Regions from separate parts of the Homo sapiens genome. Here regions 1, 2, 3 and 4 are each linked to region 5. Evidence: promoter capture Hi-C in 16 types of primary human blood cells and fetal thymus (Javierre and others, 2016). All regions are on one chromosome and are shown on one strand. Each heading gives the region's core, a stretch centred on a gene start or on the middle of the fragment in contact. The rest is flanking DNA. Distances are from core to core; before and after follow the strand shown. Region 1 has its middle 14 kb from the start of SFT2D1. Region 2 overlaps RNASET2 (ribonuclease T2). Region 3 holds the start of CEP43 (centrosomal protein 43). Region 4 has its middle 4.2 kb from the start of RPS6KA2. Region 5 holds the start of PSMB1 (proteasome 20S subunit beta 1).

Region 1 (2,700 bases), core at 8-2,507, 4.2 Mb before region 5:
CAGGCAGCTCATGCCAACATCAGAAAATATACACCTCTCTATGAGGTCTTGTGTAATTCTGTCTTCTAAATAGAAAGGAAGCCTTTTAAATTTTAAACAAAATTTGCAGAGTTTTCCCTCATATGTTCATACATTTTTCAGACTATTTTTAAAATGCTGTAAGCTTGCTTTGTTCAACTGAGAGTTGATCTTGTCGACTTAGAGAGATTTCATAGCATTTGTCTAGAAAAAGTAACTGCCTGATTCATTCCCCATCCCCCAATTGGCTAATGTGCCCTAATTGTTTTTAAGGAGTCACTTTTTGCTCTAAGTAGCAACTTACTTGAAATTTATGCTAATTTATAGTAAAAAATTATGACATTATAATTCTTGATTAGAAGTGCTTTTAGAAGAAAGTATAAATGTGGCTGACTTTAAATGAAGGAAAGCGTAAAAACTGGATCTGCTGAACAGTCCTTATTGCATCTGGATGGCTGTGTGTTCCCTATGGAGTAAGAAGTGCATTGGACACATGGGGAGCCAGAGACACCATCTGCCTGGGGTGGGCCACTAGAGCCCATGTCCTCCTCTGTGAAGTGGCCCGCCCTGTGCCCTCACTTCATCTCTCCCAGCCAGAATCACAGGCACTGCAATGGCACCCTGTGCCACGCGTGCTGCATCCAGCTGGGCTGTGTTAACCCTCACCCAACTTGCAAAACTCATGCTTCAGCGATGGTGTTGCTGTTGCAAACTAAGCACATTTAGTCATGCAGAACTCCTAGGCTTTTTTTGTTTTGTCTTTTTAAGTAAATAACTGTAATCACTAAAAGGTTTGAGGTAGGTGAGTTATCTGAAGGGTATTTAGTTGTACTAGAAAACACATACAAAAAGCAAAGTCTGCATTTTGACTTACAAGTGAAGAGGTTTCAGACAAAACCCTTAAGAGCTGCGTTTATATTTTTCACCTCTGCTCATCATGTGGAATCTTAAAACATCATCTATCTCCTTAAAGCCCCTCTATAGGAAAAATTAAACACTGACTCGAATAAAGTCAAGAGAATGTTAACTGACAGTTATTTGAATGTATACAGTATAAGCCATAATGAGAAAATACATAGCATGCTATTTAGATAGGTTGGATATGATTATTTTTATTTAAAGAGAAAAGTTATCACTCAAAAAGGGCACAGAATAAAACCTTCACAGGATGATCTTTCAGGACAAGATTAAAAAGTTAAAATATCTAGGTTCTAATAGCACTTGAAATTAAATAGTAAAAGGCTGGCCAGGCATGGTGGCTCACATCTGTAATCCCAATACCGTGGGAGGCCATGGTGGAAGAATTACTTTAGCTAGCCCAGGGGTTCAAGACCAGCCTGGGGAACATAGTGAGACATGCATCTCTCCAAAAATTTTTTAAATGAGCTGGGCGTGATGGCATGCATCTGTAGTCCCAGTGACTTGGGAGGCTGAGATGGGAACATTCTTGAGCCCAGGAGTTTGAGGCTGCAGTGAGCTGTGTTTGCGCCACTATGCTCCAGCCTGGGCCACAGAGCAAGACCTTGTCTCGAAAAAAAAAAAAAAAGAGTTAAAAAGGAGAAGGCAGAAATTGATTTGTTTATCCAGAACTCATTGGTGTAGACAGACTAAATGATGAAGAATGGAAGCATTTAGACCCAATTGCTCTGACGGTAGATTGTCTCGAAGTTCGTGGTAGACTGACCTCCCACCTCCTGTACCTAACAGGACTAGCCTTCTAAGAACTAGCAGCTGCTAGAAAGCAGAAACTTTACACTGAAAATAAAAACTAACAATTGCATTAAAGTCTACATTGGATAGGTGCTTACATAACACACAGTAAAAGGTAATTTCAAGTGAATTTAGAACCATTATTACTTGGAACACACATGCTTAGGACATGGATTCTAAAGACAAAAACTGTAAATAAAATTTTGAAATTGTATTTAGTAGTTTCACTGTTTGTGTTAATAATGGTATTGTTATTGTGAAACTATATTGTTAAAGCAAGTAAGTAGAGAATATTTATGTGATCAGAAATAATGCTATTCAGTATAAAAGAGATTCAATTATAAAATCAAGTAAATTAAGTAGAAATACAATACTAGAGTTGAAGTGTAAATATCAATATGAACTTGTGATTTTAAAAAAGACACCTTTCTAGCACTGACCACTGAAATGGCCAAAAAGCAATGTCCGCCTAATAGCGTAAGTGTGCCAAGAGTCCATCTTTTGGCTACAAACACCACTCCTCATAAACGCAGCCAGAACTCCTTGGAGAAATGTCTCTTCCTTCCATGTTGGGGACAAGGAAAAGACAGGGTGAGCAGGAGAATCTTGTACCAGCAAACACGAAAGCTTTCAGATTGATGGGATTGTATCAAAAGGTCACCATTAAAGGGCTCCCAGTGGCCAAAGGTAGGACATTTGAGCGAAAGAGAATAGTATCATAGTTGATAGAAACCCATTAAATCTATGAAAATTCAGGAGTCTGTTATGCTCAAAACAGAAAACATTCAAAATAATTTATCACTACTGAAATAGCTATTACACCAATTCCTTCCTTTTTAACTTTTAATTTTTATTTTTATAGATTCAGGAGGTACAAGTGCAGTTTTGTGACATGGATATTTTGGATAGTGGTGAAGTCTGGGCTTTCAGTGAACATATTAGTCGGTTCTGACACTGCTATGAAGATACTAC
Region 2 (2,700 bases), core at 1-2,500, 3.6 Mb before region 5:
TCTCAAAAAAAAAAAAAAAAAAAAAAAAAGAAAGAAATGATCAAGGGCATAATCTGAGCCAGATAAGTGAAACTGCATTTTCATTTGTCAACAGAAAAATCAGTTGAGGAAGTAGAACAGAAAGTCCTTACTGCTCAGTGCTGGAGAAAGAGGGTCAGAGGCCAAAACCTGTAACTTCACCTCTGCCACTCAACTCTATCCCTCAGGGAACCCAGTTCAAAGCCAGAAGCTGGGCTCCTTTCCTGGAGGCAATGCAGAGAGCAAAGCCTGCACCACACGGGGCTCTGAGGGCTCTGCACAGCACTCAGTTCCCAGGCCTGCCTGCATGGAGCTGTGGGAGAGCCCAGAACACTGAGAACCCGACAGGCAGACTGAGCATCTTTGACACAAGCATCTCATCAGAGGGGGCACCAGGGACAGCCCTCACTGCCTAGGAGGACACCTGGGCTCAAACAGAACCCTTCACCATGGCTGCCCAGTAGGAAATACACTCCTTAACAAGGACATTTTGCTACAGATTTTTTTTTAAATCTTGTTTCTAAAGCCTCAAGGCAAAGATGTGCCTCCACCCATATTTACATTCAGTGTGCAGGGACACACCCACGTTTTGTCATGTAAATGCCTCCCTGAATGCAGAGCAGCCTGGTCTCAGGCCCTGGAGGCAGATCCTTCAGTGTGGGTCAAAGACAGTGCTTAAGTTCCAGCTCCTCCTCCACGGTCCTTCTTCCGTAGGAACCAAGGACTCCAGCAATCCCTCCCTATCTCAGAATGCCAGCTACACTCCCAACAATTGAAAGTTGATGCCAGGCAGCTTCCGGCTCCTTCTGTCCACTGCCCCAACCCAAGGCAAGGAAACAGCAGCAGGAGCGCAACATTAAGTCTGCAAAACTGAAAACGGGGCAATCTCGTGTACAGAAGTGAGCAAGAGCATAATTTGAGCCAGATAAGCAAAATTTCATTTTCGTTTGTCATCAGAAAAATCAGTGAGGAAGTAGAAGCGAAAGTCACTACCACTCAGTGCTAGAGGCAAAACATAAAGCCTGCGTGCTCCTGACAGAATGTGGTGCTAGCTCAGCAACACGGTCAAACACTTGAGAAGTGTGCAATGCACACCAGGGTCAGCTTGACACACCGAGCAGGGTACGCCCTGAGGTGCAGATCCAGGCAGTGTCCTGGCTCTGGGTGCTCCAATGAGAAGGGCCTGGACACTGACGCACTGAAGGGATGTGGGCATGGAGCAAAACGCAGCCAGATGATGAGGGGCCAGCCCGGAGGGCCGTGAGTGCCATGGGTGCCAAGCACAGCAAAGGAGGCAGGGAAGCTCTTGGGTCCTCTTCACTCACAGGACATGTTAATAAAATGTCCAATACATGGAGGGATGTAGGGACCAGCCCTACAGGGACTGTGGGTTTTTCTCCTCGTGTGGAGACGAGAGATTGTAGAAATAAAGACACAAGACAAAGAGACAGAAGAAAAGACAGCTGGGCCCAGGGGACCACTACCACCAAGACGCGGAGACCAGTAGTGGCCCCGAATGCCTGGCTGCACTGTTGTTTATTGGATACAAGGCAAAAGGGGCAGGGTAAGGAGTGTGAGTCATCTCCAATGACTGATAAGGTCACGTGAGTCACGTGTCCACTGGACAGAGGGCCCTTCCCTGTATGGCAGCGGAGGCGGAGAGAGAGAGAGGCCAGCTTACGCCATTATTTCTTCTATGCATTTCAAAGACTTTTAGTACTTTCACTAATTCTGCTACTGCTATCTAGAAGGCAGAGCCAGGTGTACTGGGTGGAACATGAAAGTGAAACAGCAGTGTGACTGCTGAAGCACAGCATCACGGGGAGATGGTTAGGCCTCCAGATGGCTGTGGGCAGGCCTGACTGATATGAGGCCTATCCACAAGAGGTATGGTGAAGCAGAGTCTGCTCTAACTCCCTTTCCCAGTCTGCTGAGTAACGGGTGCCTTCCCTAGGCACTGACGCTACCACTAGACCGAGGTCAGCTAAGTAATGGTTGCCTTCCCAGGCACTGGTGTTACCACTAGACCAAAGAGCCCTCTAGTGGCCCTGTCCGGGCGTGACAGAGGCTCACACTTGTCTTCTGGTCACTTCTCACCGTGCCCCTTCAGCTCCTATCTCTGTATGGCCTGGTTTTTCCTAGGCTGTAATTGTAGAGCAAGGATTATTATAATATTGGAATAAAGAGCAATGCTACAAACTGATGATTAATAATATTCATATATCATCATATCTATAATCTATTTCTAGTATAACTGTTCTCATTTTATATATTTTCTTTATTATACTGGAACAGCTTATGCCCTCGGTCTCTTGCCTTGGCACCTGGGTGGCTTGCCGCCCACAGAGGGAGGAGACAAACTGAGGCTTGCTGTGGGTTGAACCGTGTCCTCCCAGAAGATATATCCCTGTCCTAACCCCTCCTCCCATCTGTGAACATGACCCTACATGGACACAGGGTCTTTGCAGATGTCATCAAGAAAAGGTGATACCAGATTAGGGTGGGCCCTAAATCCAATTACTGGTGTCCTCATCAGAAGAGACAGAGAGACACAAAGTGGAGAACACACCGTGAAGGAGAAGGCAGAGATTGGGGTGATGGGTCAGCCCAGGAACGCAGAGGACCACGGGTCCTTACTAGAAGCTAGCAGAGAAACAGAACAAACTCTCTCAGAGCCTTCCA
Region 3 (2,700 bases), core at 20-2,519, 3.6 Mb before region 5:
CGCCCGTCTTCCCGTGGCTTCCCTACGGCCGCGGCTCCCGCTGCTCCTTTCCGCCGGCCACGCGGGTCGCACGACCTTCCCCTCCCGCCCACCCTGAGGCGCTGAAGCCCTCGACGCCGGCCTCGGGAAAGGCGCGGCCACCGCCCGTTTCGGATTCCCGTTTCCTTCCTCCGGGCGCGTCCTTCACCGTGGCCAAATCAGCCTCTCAACTGCTGGAGCCCGGCCTCGGACACTTCTCGGCTTACGCCGCCATACAGTGGCGCACCCCGAAACCCCGGAACCGACAGCTCGGCTGGCCTTGCGCACCCACACTCTCCAAGGCAGGGCTCGGTCCGGGGGCTGGTTTTGCCAAGGCGAGGGGCGAGGGGCAGCCCAGGCGGCCGGATGGATACCAAGAGGGCGCGTCAGCTCCGGCGGGACGGGGCTTCCAGGGCCCGGGAGGGGTCCAGGACTCCCCGCCGGCGCCTGGCTGTCGGCGGAGGGCCGCGGGGCAGGAGGGAGTGGAGACTGCGGCCCCAGTTCGGGCAGCGCGGAGCCCACCCAACGCCCTCCTCGGCCCTCGGCTCTTCCTGGGGCCATCCCGCCCCTGCACCTCGGCCTGGCACCTTTCCGGTTAGCCTCGGAGGCCGTGGCCGAGCAGGGTGCGTTCGCCTGGCTGGGGGGCCTCAGAACGTTATTTCCGGGTGACAACCTGCAGGGCCTTCCGCCCCTCGCGACCTCTCGGGAGTCCCTTCCCCGGCGCCCCCCCGGGGCTGCAGGGGCTGCAGGTTCGGTCTCGGGGCCTCCTTACCGCAGTCCGCCCGGCTTTAGGCTAGTGGGCTTTAACTACGTCGATAATATGACTCCGGCGATCTTGTGCGGCGATGGGATGCGGCCGTGGGCGGTGGAGTCCAGGCGGAGTCCGCTCTCCACACGCGAGGGCGCCTCCTCCTCACCGCTCGCCGGCTTCAAAGCTCGCGCCTCAGGCGACGGCAGCCAACGGGTTGCCGGCTGGAGGCCCCGCCGACGCCCCGCCCCTTGCGTGCCCACCCGCGCCCCGCAGCCCCGCCCCCAGCGCCGACCCTAAGTTTCGGCGCTCAGTGGTCCGGCGCTCCCCAAGGCTCGGTGTCCAGCGTCAACCCCGAGGTCTCTATGCCCCGCCTCCCGACGCCAGGGGGCAGGGCCAGCGCGCTGCGCGTCGGGGCGGGGCTTTGGCTGCGTCGGCCGCGTAGCCCGCGCGCGGAGCGTACCCTGCTGCGGCCGTTGGCCGTTAGCGCGGCTTCGGCGGTTGTCTTGGAGAAGCAAGATGGCGGCGACGGCGGCCGCAGTGGTGGCCGAGGAGGACACGGAGCTGCGGGACCTGCTGGTGCAGACGCTGGAGAACAGCGGGGTCCTGAACCGCATCAAGGTGAGGCCGGAGGCTGGGGCCGGGCCTGGCGGATCCGCAGGGCTTGCGTGGACAGCGGGCGTCACAACGGTCGCGGCGAGGAGGCCGCCTCCCTGGCGAGGGACCGGGGCCGGCGGGCACTGGGGGCGCGCCCCGGCATGGCCTCCGTCCTGCCCGCCCCACAGAGGGGGTCGGCTCGTTCGTTCGTGTGGTCCCGGAGGGCACCGCGGACTGGGGGTGCCTGGCCCATCCCCTGCCTCATTCCGTGGGGGCGGGACCGCGGGGCTTGGGGGCCACACGGGCGGCCCGCAGCTGGGCCCTGGAGTGCGGCCCCAGCGTCTCTTCCTCAGGCTCGGGCATGATCCGCGGCGGGAAAGCAGCGCGTCCAGCCGAAGCCTGGGGGTCGGAGAGCTTGTGTGACTGAGAACGTTTCGGAAGGCGTTTCTGACCTTTGCACCTGCCCTCCCAGCTCGTTGGCTTGCTCGTGTTTGTTGCTGGATAAATGTGAGCTTGTTGTGAAAATTGTCTTGAAATTATAATTTCCTGTTTCTTAACTTTTTTTTAAGGCTGAACTCCGAGCAGCTGTGTTTTTAGCACTAGAGGAGCAAGAAAAAGTAGAGGTATGAAGTTTCCAGATTTTAACATGGCTGTATTCGTTAATACTTAATTTCTTATTCATTAAAAACCGTCTTAAAAATAGTTTATAGTAACATATAGCTAGGGATAATTTTGAACTGTTAAGGATTACATTACTATTGAGAGAGAGCCAAAATTATTCTTTTTTCGTGTAGCTTTTGAATTTGGGGGTAATCTTAAGGTACCACAGTAACTCTGATACTAATGCTTAATCTGAAACAAATGGTCATAGGAGTTTCTTGAAGAAATGGTGCCATTGTCAATGTGTTAAGTGCAGGTTCACTCAGATCCTTTAGTAAGCTAATATGTTATTAATCCCTATGAAACGGGGTATATAGTATGCAACTTTTCCCAAAATTATCTGACCACTCAATTATTTTGACAATGAAAAAGACAGCGATTATTTTAAAAGTGCAGCCACTACTCTATATTTAAGTGGGTAATTTAACTTTTTCGGAGTCCCACCAACCATCCTGAGTAAATATTCTGGAATTTGTCAACAAGAATAGAACCATCATCAAAGCCTTAAACTCTTGCTGTATGACAAATCAGTCTACTGTCCTCTCACTTCTTTAGACCTGTATACCTAATCTCTAATTTCATCAAAATCTTCAGTTCTTTGCCCTTTCCATGTCTGTGCAGGCATCAGTCTTCTCTTGGCAGCATTTTGCTCTGGACCCTATGGGTCTGGACCCCTA
Region 4 (2,700 bases), core at 20-2,519, 3.9 Mb before region 5:
GTCCCAGGCTGAGGAATAACAGGGCACTGTCAGGCAGCTGTGACAAGGTTTCCCATCTCTCCCTGCTACACAGGCACCTTGTGGGTAAGGCTGGTGTGCTCTCTGCATATGGGAAGATGCCACATTCTCGGGGCACCCCACAGGAGTGGCTTGAGTGACATCCAAGAGCTTCTAATTAGTCAAGTACCACAAATGTCTGTTCGTCTCCAAACAGTCCTACAGGCTGCTGAAAGTTTCAAGCTTCTAAAACTCCCACATATTTTCAATAAAACGCTAAATTGCACTTCAAGTGAAACTATATATCTTTAAAATAAATTGAAACATTCGGTCTTCATTAGGACTAAAGTTTTGCCATGGGAGGTGAATTCACTAGGTTCACCTGATGCAAAACTTCACCAGGATCACCAGGGTCACCTGGTGCTGGCCATCTGCGAAAGCAGGAAGTCGTGCTTTTCCGGAGTATCAGCATTCGAAGGCTCTGCCCATCACAGGCATCCTGCTGGATGCTCCAGAGACAGTGTCCAGCCAGTACGAGGGAGGGAGGTGGGCTTCAGTGTGTGCCCCTGTGAACTACTTCCTGTGGCTGTGATACAAATGGGTTTAGTCAAGCTTCCCTTAGTGTAGTCCCTGAGTGTACAGAAAGGAATCCTTTTCCTGGGCTGTGGATCCCCGTGTACTTGAAATGTTTATGACTTTGAAGTTTCTTGAATGTAGGAATTAGTCCTTGCTCAGGAAGATGGTCTTAAAGTCCTGAGACCCTAGAAGGTAAACTGTAGTGGACAGTTCAGGTGGGGGCACGTTCGGAGCAGGTGTCAGCAAGGGGCCTGGAGCTGTCAGGGAAGGGCTTCTTGGGCCCTCGGCAAAAGTCAGAAGGGATCAAGTTTGCCTCTGGTCTCTGGCTGGCCCCTGGCCCTCACCCACAGGACACTTGGGTCTCATTCACATCTGGGTGCCAACCAAGCCATGTCAGAATGACACCTGTGCCCTCAGTTTAACAGTTTAAAATCTCTGAGCATATCGAAAATTTAAAAAGAAAGTCTTAATGCGTAAAAGTCTTCAAAATGACAGAAATAAAGCTCTAATGGTGAAGTACCAGGAAATGGAATTTACATTTGAAACCAGAGGGCCTGGTTTCTGAGTAGTCAGGAGAGGCAGGTGGAAACCCACAGGCCAGTTGTACTTGACCCTTATTGACTGGCTTACATTTAGGAAGAAAAACCACATTGGGTTTCAAGCTGTGGAAACCATCATGGTTGGCTTCCTCCCTCCCCGCTGGAGCCCTCATCCCCCATCCAACCTGGGTAGGAAGGCACAGGGCTCACAGAAGGTGGGCTTCACCTGCAACACCTCCCCCGCCAGCCCGCTGTGAGGACAGCTTTGGATTTTATTGGTTTTTAAATACTATGTTCCTTCATACCACTTTCTTTTGAAACCCATTTATAAACCATAGGGCCAGAATCTACAGAGAGGCTGATCAAATAACTTTCCTGGTAACACAGATTTTTTTTCGTCCCTCTGCCTGGGGCACTCTGGTGCCTTCCATGGTGTCAGCGGAGCACGGCTGGAGTCATGACTCCCAAACAGCGAGAAGGGAGGGCCCTGCCTCAGTGAGCCCTTTTTCTCTTTGAGACAGTGGAACCCAAGAGATAGATGCGAACACACAGAGCAGTCATAGACACAGCGGAGCAGAGACAGACCAGAGAGAGGCTGCGCGGCAAACGGAGCCCAGACAGGTGGCACCTCAGGGCAGCACCAGTATCAGCTAAGGTGTAAATGCCTCGAAAAGACCTAAATCAAACACCACATGAGAGAGATGAAATTCAGACAGAGAGGCGGTGGGGACAGCGCTCCTCTCCGCACATTTCCAGGATACTAACTCCAGCTGCCATGCGGTGCCTTCAACCTCCAGGACCTGTCTGCCTCATAGCTGAAGCTTTGTACCCTTTGAGCAACATCGCCCTTCCCCACCCCCAGCCCTGGGGAGTTTTTAGACTCCACAGATAAGTGAGATCATGGACATTTGTCTCCCCATGTCTGGCTTATTCCACTTAGTATGATGTCCCCAGGCCCACCTGTGTTGCCCGCAGGTAGCTATGTGAGATGATGGGTGTGTTCATTAGCTTGATTGTGGGAACCCTTACATGAGGTATACCTACAGCAAACACCATGGGGTGTCCCTTAAATTATGCAACTTTTGGCTGCACGGGGTAGCTCACGCCTATAATCCCAGCACTTTGGGAGGCTGAGGTGGGCAGATCACCTGAGATCAGGAGTTCGAGACCAGCCTGACCAACATGGAGAAACCCCTTCTCTACTAAAAATACAAAATTAGCCGGGCATGGTGGCGCATGCCTGTAATCCCAGCTACTCGGGAGGCTAAGGCAGGAGCATCCCTTGAACCTGGGAGGCAGAGTTGCAGTGAGTGGAGATCATACCATTGCACTCCAGCCTGGGCAACAAGAGCGAAACTCCATCTCAAAAAAAAAAAAAAAATTTCTTTGTCAATTATACCTCAACAAAGCTGGAGAAAATAAAAAGAATGAATGAGGAAGGACATACAGAAATCAACAGCAACAACACAGAGGAGAAAGACCAGAAGACAGACACAAAGACCAGGAGACCAAGAAGGAACTTAACCCAAAGGAAAGGAAACTGGGAGCCCGAGCTTAGTGAGGGAGGAGAAAGCAGGGACAGACAGCG
Region 5 (2,700 bases), core at 175-2,674:
TGATTCTCACCAAAAACTATGAAGCTACTAAGGAAGATAAGGAAATTTAGGTTCAAGAAGTTCAGAAGTACCCAAAGTGTCCTTTAGTGGCAGAACCAAGGCTAAAATCAGACTTTCGTTATCTTTCTAACACACTCCCAAAATGTGCATTTATATTTCAAATTTATGAGGAACCAATTAACATTTTTGCTTTGTTTTTAAAATTTATTTTTGTAGAGATGGGGTCTTGCTATGCTGCGCAGGCTGGTCTTCAACTCCTGGCCTCAAGCGATGATCCTCCTGCCTTGGCTTCCCAAAGTCCTGGGATTACAGGTGCGAGCCACACTGCCCAGCCAATATTTTCTGTTTTAAGAACCATCGGTTCGTTCAAATTGCGTGTGTATATTTTAATGTACAAGGCTTGATTGGTAACTATAACCACTGTTTCAATTTACAGCTCTTCCCTGTCAAGAGTCTTAAACAGAGCATCTTTCTATAACCCTAAATCTCTGGCGTGCCACCACGGAAAATTATACTACTCAAGATAAAGCTGGTAATTAAAATAAAAACCAAAACTTGAACATAACATACAAGAACACACATACTAAAAGGTCCATCTTCTGAGTATTTTGTTTTCCTGAACTTAAGCTAAACGTTAAAAAAAAAAAGCACTTATCTATGAAACTAAGTTTGCTCAGCCAATCCCACCTTCTATTTGAAATAAAACAAAATGATTAAACTGCTACAATTAGAAATAACAGAAATCAGGCGGCTACAATTAGACATCTCGGCTACCAACCCAGCTATGCATCTAACAACACAGACCAAACAACCCTAACTTTTAAGTTTCAGACGCTAACCCTCTACCCTCGCCGGCTGGCATAAGAAACGTGTACATGAGGTCCAGTTTTAATGGTCTTCCACAGAGCAGAGGCTATGTTTCAATTTCTACTTTACTGTCTTACAGCAGCAAGGAGCACGGAGTGGCGGTCCACATAAAAACTCAAATGACATGACTGTAATGGGAAACCCTAAAAACCAAGGCTGTATCGCAATCACCAAGTAAACTTGAGCAAAGCGAGCCTGAAGAGGGAAACACAGGGCATGAGAGGACGGCAGGGAGACCGGCCTTGTGCGGACCCCCTCAGCTCAGGGTTCTGAGGCCTGCAGGAGCCCGGGGCAGCGCCATCACGGCGGTGACTCCTAAATAGGCTTCAGCAGATGGGGGAAGGGCGAAAGTGAAAGCCGCAGCTCTCTGGGGTTTTTACCCTCCGTTGAAAACGTAGGGCGAAAATCGCAGCTGCAAAGGGCCCGCGGCTCTGTGCGGTTCCATCCCCAAGTCTCTGCCAGGAGCCGAATACATGGCTGTAGAGGACAACATCGCACGGCTGCGCCTGCGGATCCGACACTTGCTGTCTCACGGCGAGATGGCTGCCTTGACCGGACGTTACGCCACTTCCGGCTTCTCCTGAAGTTCGCTCCCGGCCTCTCTATCTCACGCTAGTCGTTGCTCCTGGAGGGCTGCACGGCGGCTTGTCCCTTTGGTAGTTGAATCCCGCCCATTCCAAAAAGCGCTGACAGGGATGTAAAGGGTTTTTTTTGTTTGTTTTTTGTTTTTTTCCCCCTCGAAGAAAACATTGGAATTCACCCCAATGGACAAAAATTTAAGTCTGACCATACAAAAAAATTGTCAGAACTATGGCGCAACGGCAACTCGAATAACGGTGGGAACGTTAATTGTCCTGGCTAATAAAAAATGTATATAACATTTCCTATCCTTAAAGAGCTCACAACCTCACTGATAATAAAAAGTACAAAGAAAACAAGCAGTATAACATATGATTACGCCACAATGAACTACAGAAGGGAAAATCAAGGCGTGCTGAAGTCCCACTAAGAAACAACTGCGGAAAGAGCCATGTGACAACAGTGCATGAACTGGGAGTGGCAGAACTGAATATAAATGCATGTGTAAACACAAGCTGTTTGTTTTGCTTAGTGTTCCTTGTCATTCTACACGCTTGAAGATCAGCTAGCGTTCTTGCTGACAGGTAAGGAGGACGCGCTTACTGAGTGCCAAGCACTGCTCAGGCACTGATTCTGTCAATCTCTGTCAATCTCCCGACAGCCCAAGGGTAAGCACTGTTATCATTATTCAATTTTACAGAAAAAAAATGCGGGGGAGAGGTCAGGTAACTTGTCGAAGGTAACGCCGCTAGTTGCTTTAAACAACAACAACAACAACAACAAAACACACTCACACATATACACACACACGCCATTTAAAAATCGATCTTTCCTACGTCCAGCAAGGGCCAATTAGAGATGGCTGTGGCACGGCGGCCCCGCCCCGGAACTCCTCAAGAGCTTCGCCCCTCCTTACCTATGGAAACACAGGAAGTGACCTATGCTCACACTTCTCATGGCCTCGGCCCTAGTGGGAGCAACTCGCTGAAGCCGAGGGCAGAACTGGCGGAAGTGACATTATCAACGCGCGCCAGGGGTTCAGTGAGGTCGGGCAGGTTCGCTGTGGCGGGCGCCTGGGCCGCCGGCTGTTTAACTTCGCTTCCGCTGGCCCATAGTGATCTTTGCAGTGACCCAGGTAACAGATTGTACTCTTTTCTGACGGTTCGGGCGAAGGCCACCACTGCACTGAGGCCTGGGGGCAATGGTGGGGAAGAGACTAGGAATTGGCGCGCGTGCAGGCCCCTCGGGGGACGT

Evidence for each region. Contacts are between HindIII fragments. The CHiCAGO score rates a contact against its expected background, and 5 or more counts as called.
Region 1: a fragment that was not itself captured here is called in contact with the fragment with the promoter of PSMB1 in region 5 in 1 of 17 cell types (neutrophils); the score reaches 5.7 in neutrophils.
Region 2: a contact is called between a fragment that was not itself captured here and the fragment with the promoter of PSMB1 in region 5, in 1 of 17 cell types (neutrophils). The highest score is 7.0, in neutrophils.
Region 3: a contact is called between the fragment with the promoter of CEP43 here and the fragment with the promoter of PSMB1 in region 5, in 1 of 17 cell types (neutrophils). The highest score is 11.0, in neutrophils.
Region 4: a contact is called between a fragment that was not itself captured here and the fragment with the promoter of PSMB1 in region 5, in 1 of 17 cell types (neutrophils). The highest score is 5.1, in neutrophils.

The regions. Positions count from the first base shown.
Region 1 is chr6:166,355,219-166,357,918 of GRCh38, forward strand. No RefSeq gene overlaps it. Among named protein-coding and RNA genes, the nearest start is that of SFT2D1, 14 kb to the left of the region's middle. The HindIII fragment of the contact is 2,192 bases long and covers 162-2,353 here.
Region 2 is chr6:166,949,497-166,952,196 of GRCh38, forward strand. All of the region lies in intron 2 of RNASET2 (ribonuclease T2), which reads right to left. Among named protein-coding and RNA genes, the nearest start is that of RNASET2, 5.7 kb to the right of the region's middle. RefSeq lists enhancers at 45-730, 856-905, 1,026-1,945, 1,419-2,104 and silencers at 185-479, 186-255. The HindIII fragment of the contact is 6,484 bases long and covers 1-2,700 here.
Region 3 is chr6:166,998,128-167,000,827 of GRCh38, forward strand. CEP43 (centrosomal protein 43) reads left to right here and starts at 1,270. Exons shown (of 13, transcript NM_007045.4): 1 at 1,270-1,387; 2 at 1,933-1,986. The coding sequence starts at 1,286. RefSeq lists silencers at 342-571, 862-1,381, 1,472-1,631, 1,642-1,731. The HindIII fragment of the contact is 9,184 bases long and covers 1-2,700 here.
Region 4 is chr6:166,630,135-166,632,834 of GRCh38, forward strand. It overlaps a transcript of RPS6KA2 not described here. Among named protein-coding and RNA genes, the nearest start is that of RPS6KA2, 4.2 kb to the left of the region's middle. The HindIII fragment of the contact is 1,324 bases long and covers 608-1,931 here.
Region 5 is chr6:170,551,883-170,554,582 of GRCh38, forward strand. PSMB1 (proteasome 20S subunit beta 1) reads right to left here and starts at 1,425. Exons shown (of 6, transcript NM_002793.4): 1 at 1,248-1,425. The coding sequence starts at 1,360. TBP (TATA-box binding protein) reads left to right here and starts at 2,487. Exons shown (of 8, transcript NM_003194.5): 1 at 2,487-2,581. RefSeq lists enhancers at 1,178-1,557, 2,368-2,700. The HindIII fragment of the contact is 7,721 bases long and covers 1-2,700 here.